Regions from separate parts of the Homo sapiens genome. Here region 1 is linked to region 2. Evidence: promoter capture Hi-C in human tissues and cell types (Jung and others, 2019). All regions are on one chromosome and are shown on one strand. The core of a region is centred on a gene start or on the middle of the fragment in contact, and the rest is flanking DNA. Distances in the headings are between cores, read along the strand shown. Region 1 has its middle 9.5 kb from the start of MIR8071-2. Region 2 holds the start of TMEM121 (transmembrane protein 121).

Region 1 (5,131 bases), core at 353-2,852, 120 kb after region 2:
GCTCTGCCCTGGTCTGCTGAGCTCCAGGAGGTGCCCCCTGCTCCTTCTGCCCCCACCTGCCCTGCTCACCTGTGGCTGCTCGGTCCTGGTACCCTGAACTCCAATGCCTGCCCCCTGCTCACTCTGCCCTCCCTCAACCCGGGCAGCAATGTCACTCAGGTCACTGTTGCCCCCCTGCCTGTCCTGGCACCCTCTGTCCAGGTTTGGGCTGTTTTTCTGGCCTCATTTTTGTTTTTGCAGCACTTGGCTTGTTCCCTATGCTGTGGAGCAGCCCCAGTGTCCAGTCAGGTCTCCCCAACAGAGCCCCTTGCCCTTGCCCATGTGCCCCTCCTGGGTGAGCTCCCAGATCCTCCCGTCCCTGCACTGCTCCTGCTCTGGAAGCCTCTCCAGAACCTCAGCTCCTCAGTGGCCTCTGCTCTGCTGGGTCAGCTCCCTGAACGCACGGAGCCTCACCCCTCCCCTCGCCCCAGGCCTGCTGCACTCTGGGCCTTTCTGGGCCTCCCTGGACTCTTCCCTCCTCCCATCTGTGCACTCAGCACAGCTCTCCCCTCCACTCCGCTGCTGACCACAGCCCTGCTCCCCGCCAGCAGGTGCCCCAGCGCCATCAGGTGGCTCTGAGCCTAGCCCCTGTGCCTCCCCTGTCCCTGCCTCTGCCTCTGGGCTCCTTGGCTTCCACCCTCCTGTCCTGCTGCCACACTCACCCTCCCTGCTCTGCTCCCGGCTCACCTGCTGTCCTTGGTCCTGGCTGAGAGAGGGCCCCACGGCCAGCACTGCTGACCCTGCCCTGGGCTCCAGTGATGCTGCTGGCCTGGACAAGCCCCTCCGTTCACCTGGGGCCTCTCCTCCTCCCTCGTTCTACTGCCTCCTCAGCTCAGGTGGGTCCTGCCCATGCTGGCATCACCCCACGGCCGGCTCTGCCGCATCCCGTCAGGTTCCTCGTGCTCCCAGCCTGGTCGTCATGGAGGCCTCAGTCAGCCTCTGGTGTGTCCTGCCCTGTTGGCTTGGAAGCCCCTGCCCACGGTCCCCGTCATCTTGCACTGGGTGGGCGTTGGTGCCTGAAGGCTGCCCACCTCCCCCGTGCTGGCTCCGCTTGGGTCTCCATGTGGGGCTGGCCTTGCCCCCACGTCTCCCCAGCCTCTTGTAGCCTGTTCAGCAGCTGAGGTCCAGGAGCGCCCACGGCTGCACCCAGGCTCTGTCCTTCTCCTCCCGAGCCTGTGCCCTTGCCCTGTGCTGACCCTACTCACCGAGGTGGGGGTCTCAGCCCTTCCTGTTTTGGCGCGGTACATGTGGGCAGACTTGCCCACGCCGTCAGCTGCTATTTGTCTTCCTAGGAAATCACAGCTCGGCCCTCAGGTCCCCAGGGGTGTGAACTCCACGCTGCAAAGACTAAGAACAGGATTGAAACCGGCGGCACCGCTTACTTCCTGAAGTTCCCTTTTCTTCTGGTGGTTTCTGTGTCACAGGGTAAGGGGGAGTCCAGACACAGCCGAGGCTGCCTCATGGGTGTGTGGGGATGGGGGTGGTGGCTGCCCCCATACTCGTGGGAGAAGGTGGGGAGCCCGGACCTTGTTCACTGCTCTTTTCTCTGTCTCTGAGTCCCTGGGGCTGGACTGATACTGGCAGTGATTATGACCATTCTGCCCGTGGTCTCAGCCTCTCAATACCTGGGCCTCTCACCTGAAGCTTCTGACCCCCACTGGGCCCTGGTGGCTGCTTTGGCCTGGGCGTCTCTCCAGCTGGCTCTCACTCATGGTGCAGGGAGGGGAGTGTGAGTTCATCCCGCTGAGCAGCTGGCAAAGGCGAGCTGGGATGGAGAAGGGAAGGCGTTCCAAGGCTCAGGTCTGAGCTCACAGGCAGGGGCAGGTCTGGCTGCAGGGAGAATGTGTGTGCTTGAGACCAGGAGGGTCCCAGGGCTGGCCGAGTGGACCCTGCACAGGAAGGCTTCTGAGGCTGGTGCTCCAGAAGGAACAAGATGGGCTGCCAGGAGCCAGGGCCACCAGCTGTGCTCCTGGGGGCCGAGGGGACGTGGGACAGGTGGATGAACACACTGAAGCTGAGTGGAGGTGGTGCAGGGCAGTGTAGCAGCAGAGGGGAGCCAGAGGGGCCCATTCAGAGCCTGGGCAGAGTTGGCCAGAGCCTGTGGTGCAGGTGAGGGGAAGGGGTAGGGGGCAGGGCCCTGGGGCTGAGCAGAGGGGATGGCCTCTGCTTAGCTTAGGGCACTTAGCTTCCTCAGAGGCGAGGGGCACACCCGAGTTGCAGTGGCACTCCAGGGCCACTGGACTACAAGCAGAGAGAGAAATGGGGCCTCCCTGGGGCCTGGGGGATGCTGGCATCATGCAGGGTGGGGAGGTCCAAGGGCAGGTGCAAGTCTCCTACCTGTGCTGGGGGAGCCTGGACTGAGATCAGGAGGGACCTTGCCAGGCCGAAGCTCTAGAGAGAGGGAGGAGCTGAGGAAGGACGAACGTGGAAGTGGGAGGTAAGGGGGGATGGTATGAGGCCAGAGGGACTGGGCAGACCAAAAGCCCGAGGAGGTGTCGCACAGGAAGTGTCCAGAATGGAATAGGAAGTGTCCGGAATGGAAAAGGAAGCATCCAGCATGGAACAGGAAGCATCCAGAGTGGAACAAGAAAGGTCCAGCATGGAAAAGGAAGCATCCAGAGTGGAATGGGAAGCGTCCAGAGTGGAACAGGAAGCATCCAGAATGTAACAGGAAGCATCCAGAGTGGAACAGGAAATGTCCAGCATGGAACAGGAAGCATCAAGAATGTAACAGGAAGCATCCAGAGTGGAACAGGAAATGTCCAGCATGGAACAGGAAGCATCCAGAATGTAACAGGAAGCATCCAGAGTGGAACAGGAAATGTCCAGCATGGAACAGGAAGCATCCAGAATGTAACAGGAAGCATCCAGAGTGGAACAGGAAATGTCCAGCATGGAACAGGAAGCATCAAGAATGTAACAGGAAGCATCCAGAGTGGAACAGGAAATGTCCAGCATGGAACAGGAAGCATCCAGAATGTAACAGGAAGCATCCAGCATGGAACAGGAAGCATCCAGAGTGGAACAAGAAACGTCCAGCATGGAACAGGAAGCATCCAGCATGTAACAGGAAGCATCCAGAGTGGAACAAGAAACGTCCAGCATGGAACAGGAAGCATCCAGCATGGAACAGGAAGCATCCAGCATGGAACAGGAAGCATCCAGAGTGGAACAAGAAATGTCCAGCATGGAACAGGAAGCATCCAGAGTGGAATGGGAAGCGTCCAGCGTGGAACAGGAAGCATCCAGAGTGGAACAAGAAACGTCCAGCGTGGAACAGGAAGCGTCCAGCATGGAACGGGAAGCATCCAGAATGTAACAGGAAGCATCCAGCATGGAACAGGAAGCGTCCAGCCTGGAGCAGGAAGCGTCCAGTGTGGAGCAGGAAGTGTCCAGCGCGGAACAGGAAGTGTCCAGCGTGGAAAAGGAAGCATCCAGCGTGGAACAGGAAGCATCCAGAGTGGAACAAGAAACGTCCAGCGTGGAACAGGAAGCGTCCAGCATGGAACGGGAAGCATCCAGAATGTAACGGGAAGCATCCAGCATGGAACAGGAAGCGTCCAGCGTGGAGCAGGAAGCGTCCAGTGTGGAACAGGAAGCATCCAGAGTGGAACAGGAAGCATGCAGAGTGGAACAGGAAATGTCCAGCATGGAACAGGAAGCATCCAGCATGGAACAGGAAGCATCCAGCATGGAACAGGGAGCATCCAGAGTGGAACAGGAAATGTCCAGCATGGAACAGGAAGCATCCAGGATGGAACAGGAAGCATCCAGTGTGGAACAGGAAGCATCCAGAGTGTAACAGGAAACATCCAGCGTGGAACAGGAAGCATCCAGCGTGGAACAGGAAGCATCCAGCGTGGAAGAGGAAGCGTCCAGCATGGAACGGGAAGCGTCCAGAATGGGCACTTTGAAGGGAAATCATGTCCCTCCCACTAAATGTGCTCTCCACAAGGACCCGGCCTGCCCTTGTGACCCTGCTGGATCCCTGAGCTGGCACCAGCCCTGCCCTCAGAGAGAATGTCCAGGAGACAGGTGGAGGTGCACGTGTGGGTCCCTGGGGAAATCCATCCTCCAGCCGCAGGCTCCCAGTCGGCTCCCAGCCTCTCGTTCCAGCTTCACCCCATGGAGCTCATAATGGGCTCAACCTCCCAGGCTGGGGGAGGACGGAGTGAGGGGCCCCCCACTGCCCATGGCACACCCAGGGGGCTGGGGAGTCTGCACTGGGCTGGGGCAGGGAGGCCTCGTGCAGCCTGTGGGGCTGGCAGCTCAGGACAACACTCGTATCCGTTAACTGTGGCCCTGGCAACACTGCACCCCAGACTGCGTGGCTTAAACAACAGACGTTTATTCCGTCCTGGTTCTGGAGGCCGGGCATCTGGGATGGAGGCCTCGGTGGGGCTGGCTCCTCTGTGTCATGGGAGACTCTGTCCCAGGCTCTCTCCTTGCTGCTGGGCTTTGCCGGCCGTCTCTGGTGCTCTTGGCTTATGGAAGCAGCACCATCTTCACAGGGCGTTCTCCCCACGTGCTGTCTGTGCCCAGATTCCCCCTTTTCATGAGGACAGCAGTCATATTGGATCAGAGGCTTGCCCTACTCCAGGGTGACCTCATCTGAACTTGATTGCAGCTGCAAAGACTGTTTCCAGACAAGGTCACATTCTGCGGTCCTGGGGGTTAGGACTTCAACACATGAATTTATAGGGGACACATTTTAACCCATGACAGTTTGCCCTCCGTTCCCCCCATAATCATGTCCTTCTCACACGCAAAATCCCTGCATCCCATAGCAACATCTCCAAGATGGCTAACCCCTTCCAGCACCAACTCTTAGTCCACAATGTCAGAGAAACATCATCTGCATCAAGTGTGAGAGAAACCCAGGGTGAGATTAGGAGAGAAACCACAGCGGGGTGGCGAGCCTCCTGCCCCCTCCGGCCCAGGTGAGGCCGTGTGCACTGTGTGGGTGTGCCTGGGGCTCCACTTGCCCCTCCCATGTACCTGCTCATTTTCCCCAGGCTGTGGGCATTTGGGGCAGGGGCCTCAGTGCCTGGTCGGCTCTCTCCCGGTTCTATCCAATGCCCCAAGCTTGCTG
Region 2 (5,516 bases), core at 2,723-5,222:
TTTAAATGGATGAATTTTATGGTATTTGAATTATATTTCAATAAATCTGTTAAAGAATCAATGGCCATGCTTGTGTGGGTGCACTTGTTCCATTGATCTGTCGGCTGACCCTCTGCCAATTCAGCCTGTCTCAATTGCTTTAGCTTTATGGTGAGTTAACATCCATTAGTGATGGCTGGGCACGGTGGCTCACACCTGTAATCCCAGCACTTTGGGAGGCTGAGGTGGGTGGATCACGAGGTCAGGAGATCGAGATCATCTTGGCTAACACAGTGAAACTCCGTCTCTACTAAAAATACAAAAAATTAGCCGGGCGTGGTGGCGGCCGCCTGTAGTCCCAGCTACTCGGGAGGCTGAGGCAGGAGAATGGCATGAACCCAGGAGGCAGAGCTTCCAGTGAGCCAAGATCATGCCACTGCACTCCAGCCTGGGCTACAGAGCGAGACTCAGTCTCAAAAAAAAAAAAAACCCAAAAAAACAAAAACAACAACAACAAAAACATCCATTCGTGAGAACCCTCCAACTTTTTCCCTTCTTTTTCAGAATTATTTTGGCAACTAGTTGCTTTTCATTTCTATATACATTTCAGAACAAGGTTTTCTATACCTATAAAATTTCCGACAGGAATTTTAATTGAAATTGCATTAAATCCGTAGTCGTTTTGGAGAGAATTGGTATCTTAACTATATTTGTTCTAATTCAGGAACACAGCATGCCTCTCACATATTTAGGCCTTCTTTGATTTCTTTTATCAGCATTTGGTAGTTTTCAGTATACAAATCCTGTACCAGTCTTGTTAGATTAATACCAAACGAATAAATTTACTGGGGGACCATTTTAAATAGCATTGCTTTTAAAAATTTTGGTTTTCAATTGTTCATTGCTAATATATAGAAACAGGACTGAGTTCTGTGTTTTCATCCTGCAACCTTGCAAAACTCACTTATTAGTATTCTGACTTTTTTGTTGGTAAAATTCTTGGGATTTTCGACATAGACTTTTATGTTATTTATGGATAGGGACATCTTTATTTCTTCCTTTCTAATCTGTATGCCTTTTATTTTTCTGGTTTTATTGCATGGGTTAGGACTGCCAGTACACTGTGGAACAGGAGTGAATAGAGTGGACATCTTTACCTTGTTCCTGATCTTAGGGCTCAGCATTTAGTCCTTCATTATTAAGTATCACATTAGATGCAGAGGTTTTTTTTTTTTTTTTTTTTCTTTTTTGGACAGGGTCTTCCTCTGTTGCCCACACTGGAGTGCAGTGGTGCGATCTTAGTTCACTGCAACCTCTGCCTCCCAAGTTCAAGCGATTCTCATGCCTCAGCCTCCTGAGTAGCTGGGATTACAGGTGTGTGTCACTGTACCCTGCTAATGTGTGTGTGTGTGTGTGTGTGTTTTAAGTAGAGATGGTGTTTCGCCATGTTGCCCAGGCTGGCATAGAACTCCTGAGCTCAGGTGATCTGCCTGCCTTGGCCTCCCAAAGTGCTGGGATTACAGGCGTGAGCCACCACATCCGGCCAGATTGTTTTGTATTTTTTGTAGAGACAGGGTTTCACCATGTTTCCCAGGCTGGTCTTGAACTCAAGCTCAAGCAATCCGCCCACTTTGGCCTCCCAAAATGCTGGTATTAGAGGCATGAGCCACAGTGCCTGGCCTAATTTTTTTTTTAATTAAAAATAACAGATATGGAATCTCTCCATGTTGCCCGGGCTGGTCTTGAACTCCTGGCCTCCCAAAATGTTGAGATTGCAGGGGTGAGCCACCATGCCTGGCCTGTTGTTTTTGTTGTTGCTTTTTGTAGATTCCTTTTATGAGATTAAGCATGTTCCCTTTGCTTTCTAGTTTGCTGAGAGTGTTTATCAGGGATGAGTGTTGAATTCCGTCAAATACTTTCTTTGAATTGATTGAGATGATCACATGGTTTTCTTCTTGAGACTAATATGGTGGATCACATCGATTTATTTTCACATGTTGAACCAGCCTTGCCTTTCTGGGATAGCCTCCATTTGGTTGGGGTATTTGTGTGTGTGTGTTTTTAATGCTGCTTGATTCTATTTGCTGATAATTAGTTGAGGGTTTTTGTGTCATGTTGGCATTGGCGGCTGTTGATTGTCTTTTCTCTTGCAGGTTGGATTTCCTGATTCTTCACATGCAGAGTAATTTTAGATTGTCTCCTGCACATTTAGACATTATGTTATGAGACTGGTCTTATTTAAATCCCATTGAGAATGTTGGCATTTTGTTTTATCATGCAATCAACCTAGTTGGTTTCAGGCCACAAGTTCAAATAGGCTCCTGTGGGTCCTGCCTTCCATGTCGGTTTTGTTTTCAAAGCCTTTGCAGTGGGACTCAGATCTGTCCTTCGTATGCACTGCCCAGTGGCCAGTGTGGGACGTGGGCAGTGGGCTGTCCTTTTGTTCAGTTCTCAGCCTTTGGGATGTGAATGAGGGTTTAGACTTGTACATCATGTATGGCTTGCACAACTTCCTGGGGTTGCTTTTTTTTTTTTTTTTTTTTTGAGACAGAGTCTCACTCTGTTGCCCAGGCTGGAGTGCAGTGGCAAGATCTCGGCTCACTGCAACCTCCATCTCCCGGACTCAAGCAATTCTCCTGCTTCAGCCTCCCGAGTAGCTGGGATTACAGGTGTGTGCCACCACGCCCGGCTAATTTTTATATTTTTAGTAGAGATGGGGGTTTCACCATGTTGGCCAGGCTGGTCTCGAACTCCCGACCTCAGGTAATCCGCCCACATCGGCCTCCCAAAGTGCTGGAATTACAGGTGTGAGCCACCACGCCCAGCCCATGGATTGCTTTCTACTGCTTCTCCCTGCCCACCATCTCTCCAGCGACAGGGGACCACATCTCCTGGGGCTGGAAAGGAAGGCTCTTCTGCCTCAGCGTTTTAGGTGCTTGTAAACCCTATGCCTTGGTCATGGCTTTGGTGGGATACCTAGGGGCTGGGGCATCAGAGAATGGAGAAGAGTAAAAAAACAACCACTACCAAAAAACCCCATCCTCCCAAACCCTAACATCCCCCCGGGCATTCTCCTGCACCCTGGGAGCATTAGGCGACCTTTTTCTTTCCTCCCCTTGTGCCAGGACTAGAGAACTTCTGGAGCTCTCTGTCCTCTTCTGGCTTTCAGGCCGTGTTGAGTCCAGGCCCGGGGATACGGGAAGAGAATCTGGAAGTTCACTACCAGTTGGGTGGTGCCTCAAATTCTGGTCTTTCCACCAAATCTGGTGTCCCTTTACCTCTCTGACCCTCAGTCTCCTCCTATGTCAGAGGGAAGTCACAGCAGTTCTGGGAAGGAGGGCAGGCAGGCAGAAGGTGCCCTCGGGTTCTTCTCTGGCTCACACGGGATGGACAGGATGTGGGGGGAGGGGCTTAGTGCCACCTCAGTGACAAAATGAAGCCCAAGTCCCCAAACCCTAGCTTGCCTCCTGGACGGGCTGGAGAAGAAGGTGGGGGCCGCTCATCATTCCTTTCCTCTGCCCTGAGAAGAAACCTGGGAAGGCTGGGTTTCTCCCCAAAGAGGACAGAGGGTGGCGCGGAGGGCCCCGGCGGCCAGGCCAGCCCCGCGCCTACATCCCTGTCAGCTCCTGGGCCGGTGGGCGCCTGTCCGGCTGAGTGGGGTCGCTCTAGGGGGCGGCAGCGGAGTTTCAGGGCGCGGGGGGCACTGGGCGGGACCCTGGGATTCTGGGCGGTGGGTGAGGAGGGTGGAGACGGGACTCCGCGCCTGGGGGTGCGCGAGGGCGCCCCGCTCCCCAGAGCCACCAGTCCTGCGCGCCGCCGCGCGGTGCTGTCGCCGTGGCAACCGGCGCTGCGGAGGGGGCGGGGCACCGGCACCCCCGCGCTCCCAGGTCCCCAGGTCCGGCGGGGCTCGCGGGCCGAGGGGCGCGGGGCGGGGCCTCTGGGTCGGGGGCGGTGCCGCGCGGGCGGGGGAGGGGCGCGGCGGGAGGAGCCGGCGCGGCCCCGGCAGTGGCGGCAGAGGCTGGGCGGGCGGGCCCGGGAGCGGCGCAGCATCTGCGGGCGGCGGGGTAGGCGCGGGCGCGGGCGGGACTGGCTGGGTGCGCGGCTGCGTCCGCGGAGGGGGCGGCGGGCCTGGGCGACCCTGCACCTCTGGGCCGTGGGGACTGTGGGGTGGGGCGGGGGCCGATGCGGCAGGGGTGAGGCCTGGGGCCGGCGGGGTGACGGGGACCCGGCCCTGCGTGGGGAAGCCTCGGGGGGACAAGCAGAGACGCAGCCTGCTGGGAGCGGCCCAAGCTCTGCACCGGCCCGCGGCGGGAGCACAGCAGCCCCCTCCCGCCCCTCCTCCCGGGGGCTCCGAGGGGTGGTTATGGGGCGAGGGTCCTTGCGGGGCCCGGGCAGTGAAGGGCCTGGAGGCCCCAGAGTCTGTGCCAGGTCTGAGCCGCGGGGCGTGGGGGGAGGAGGGGCCTCGGCCGGGGCCCAGGAGACCCAGGACAGGTGGGCCTGGGGCCAGGTCCCTACGGAGAGGTGGCCGGGCCGGGCTCTGGCTTGCCGGGGTAGGGGCTCCGCTAGGGGCTGGAGTCCGTCCCTTCGCCAGCGCAGAGCCCCTCGGCCCGCATCTGCCAAGTGACTGAGGATCGAGCGACAGCGTAGTGGGGCGGAGGGGCTGGAGGCACGGCCGGAAAGGGTGAGCGGCGCCGTGGCTCCCCCGCTATTTATTTGGCCCCGCCACGCGCGGAGAGGGAGGAAATTCTCAGGCTGCGGCTGCAGCTAGGGGAGGCCCAGGTGGGCCTGGAATGGGCCCAGAGAGGGCTTCCTGGGTCAGACGTGTAGATCCAGTGGACGTGAAAACCGGGTGAGTGTCCCGGTGGGACCCAGAGCGCGGGGAGGCTTGGAGGCAGGGGCATGGGCTGAGGACCCTCAAGGCACCCTCCTCGCGACCTGTCAGAGCTCCGAGGGGTGGGGGTGTCCTGTGTGTGGCTGTGGGGATCCTGGGCGGCGGGTGCTGGGTGGGGGCAGGGGTGGGAGTGCAGAGTTCAACGCTTTCCCGGATCGGTGGGGCCTGCGGTGTCACCAGGGCAGTCCGAGCGCCCGACTGTCACGGGGACATTAAATTTTATGCCTTTGTCTAGACACGGCAGTAAACGGAGCCCCAGGCCTGGGGCTGTGGAGGGGGTGAGGGGCTGGCTGGGAGTAAGCCTGTCAGTGACTTTGGGGTGGGTGCGGGTGTGCGGGCCTCCATTGTCACCCAGGTGTGCACAGGCCCAGGTGCGGGGACTCCGACAGCACGGCCATGAGGACCAGTGCCAGGTGTGTGACAGAGGTGCAGGGGCCTGTGGAAGCCCGACGGGCCTTGGTGGACGGGCTTCCCGAGATTCGAGGGCAGCCACAGGCATCGCCCTGGCGCAGAGGAGCAAAGCAGGGTGGCTCTGCCGGGGCAGAGGGTGGGGGACAACACCTCGCCAAGGCAATGCGGAGCCATGGGGAGCAGGGCAGGCAGTGGCCACGCGCCCAGGATGGTGGACAGGAGGGGAGACCGAGCC

The links. Contacts are between HindIII fragments. The study calls those that stand out against the background at their distance.
Region 1: a fragment that was not itself captured here is called in contact with the fragment with the promoter of TMEM121 in region 2 in 2 of the 25 tissues and cell types used here (lymphoblastoid cells and spleen).

Annotation. Positions count from the first base shown.
Region 1 is chr14:105,647,082-105,652,212 of GRCh38, forward strand. It overlaps IGH. Among named protein-coding and RNA genes, the nearest start is that of MIR8071-2, 9.5 kb to the left of the region's middle. The HindIII fragment of the contact is 3,601 bases long and covers 1-3,403 here.
Region 2 is chr14:105,522,611-105,528,126 of GRCh38, forward strand. It overlaps TMEM121 (transmembrane protein 121), which reads left to right and starts at 3,973. Exons shown (of 2, transcript NM_025268.4): 1 at 3,973-4,043. The HindIII fragment of the contact is 20,488 bases long and covers 1-5,516 here.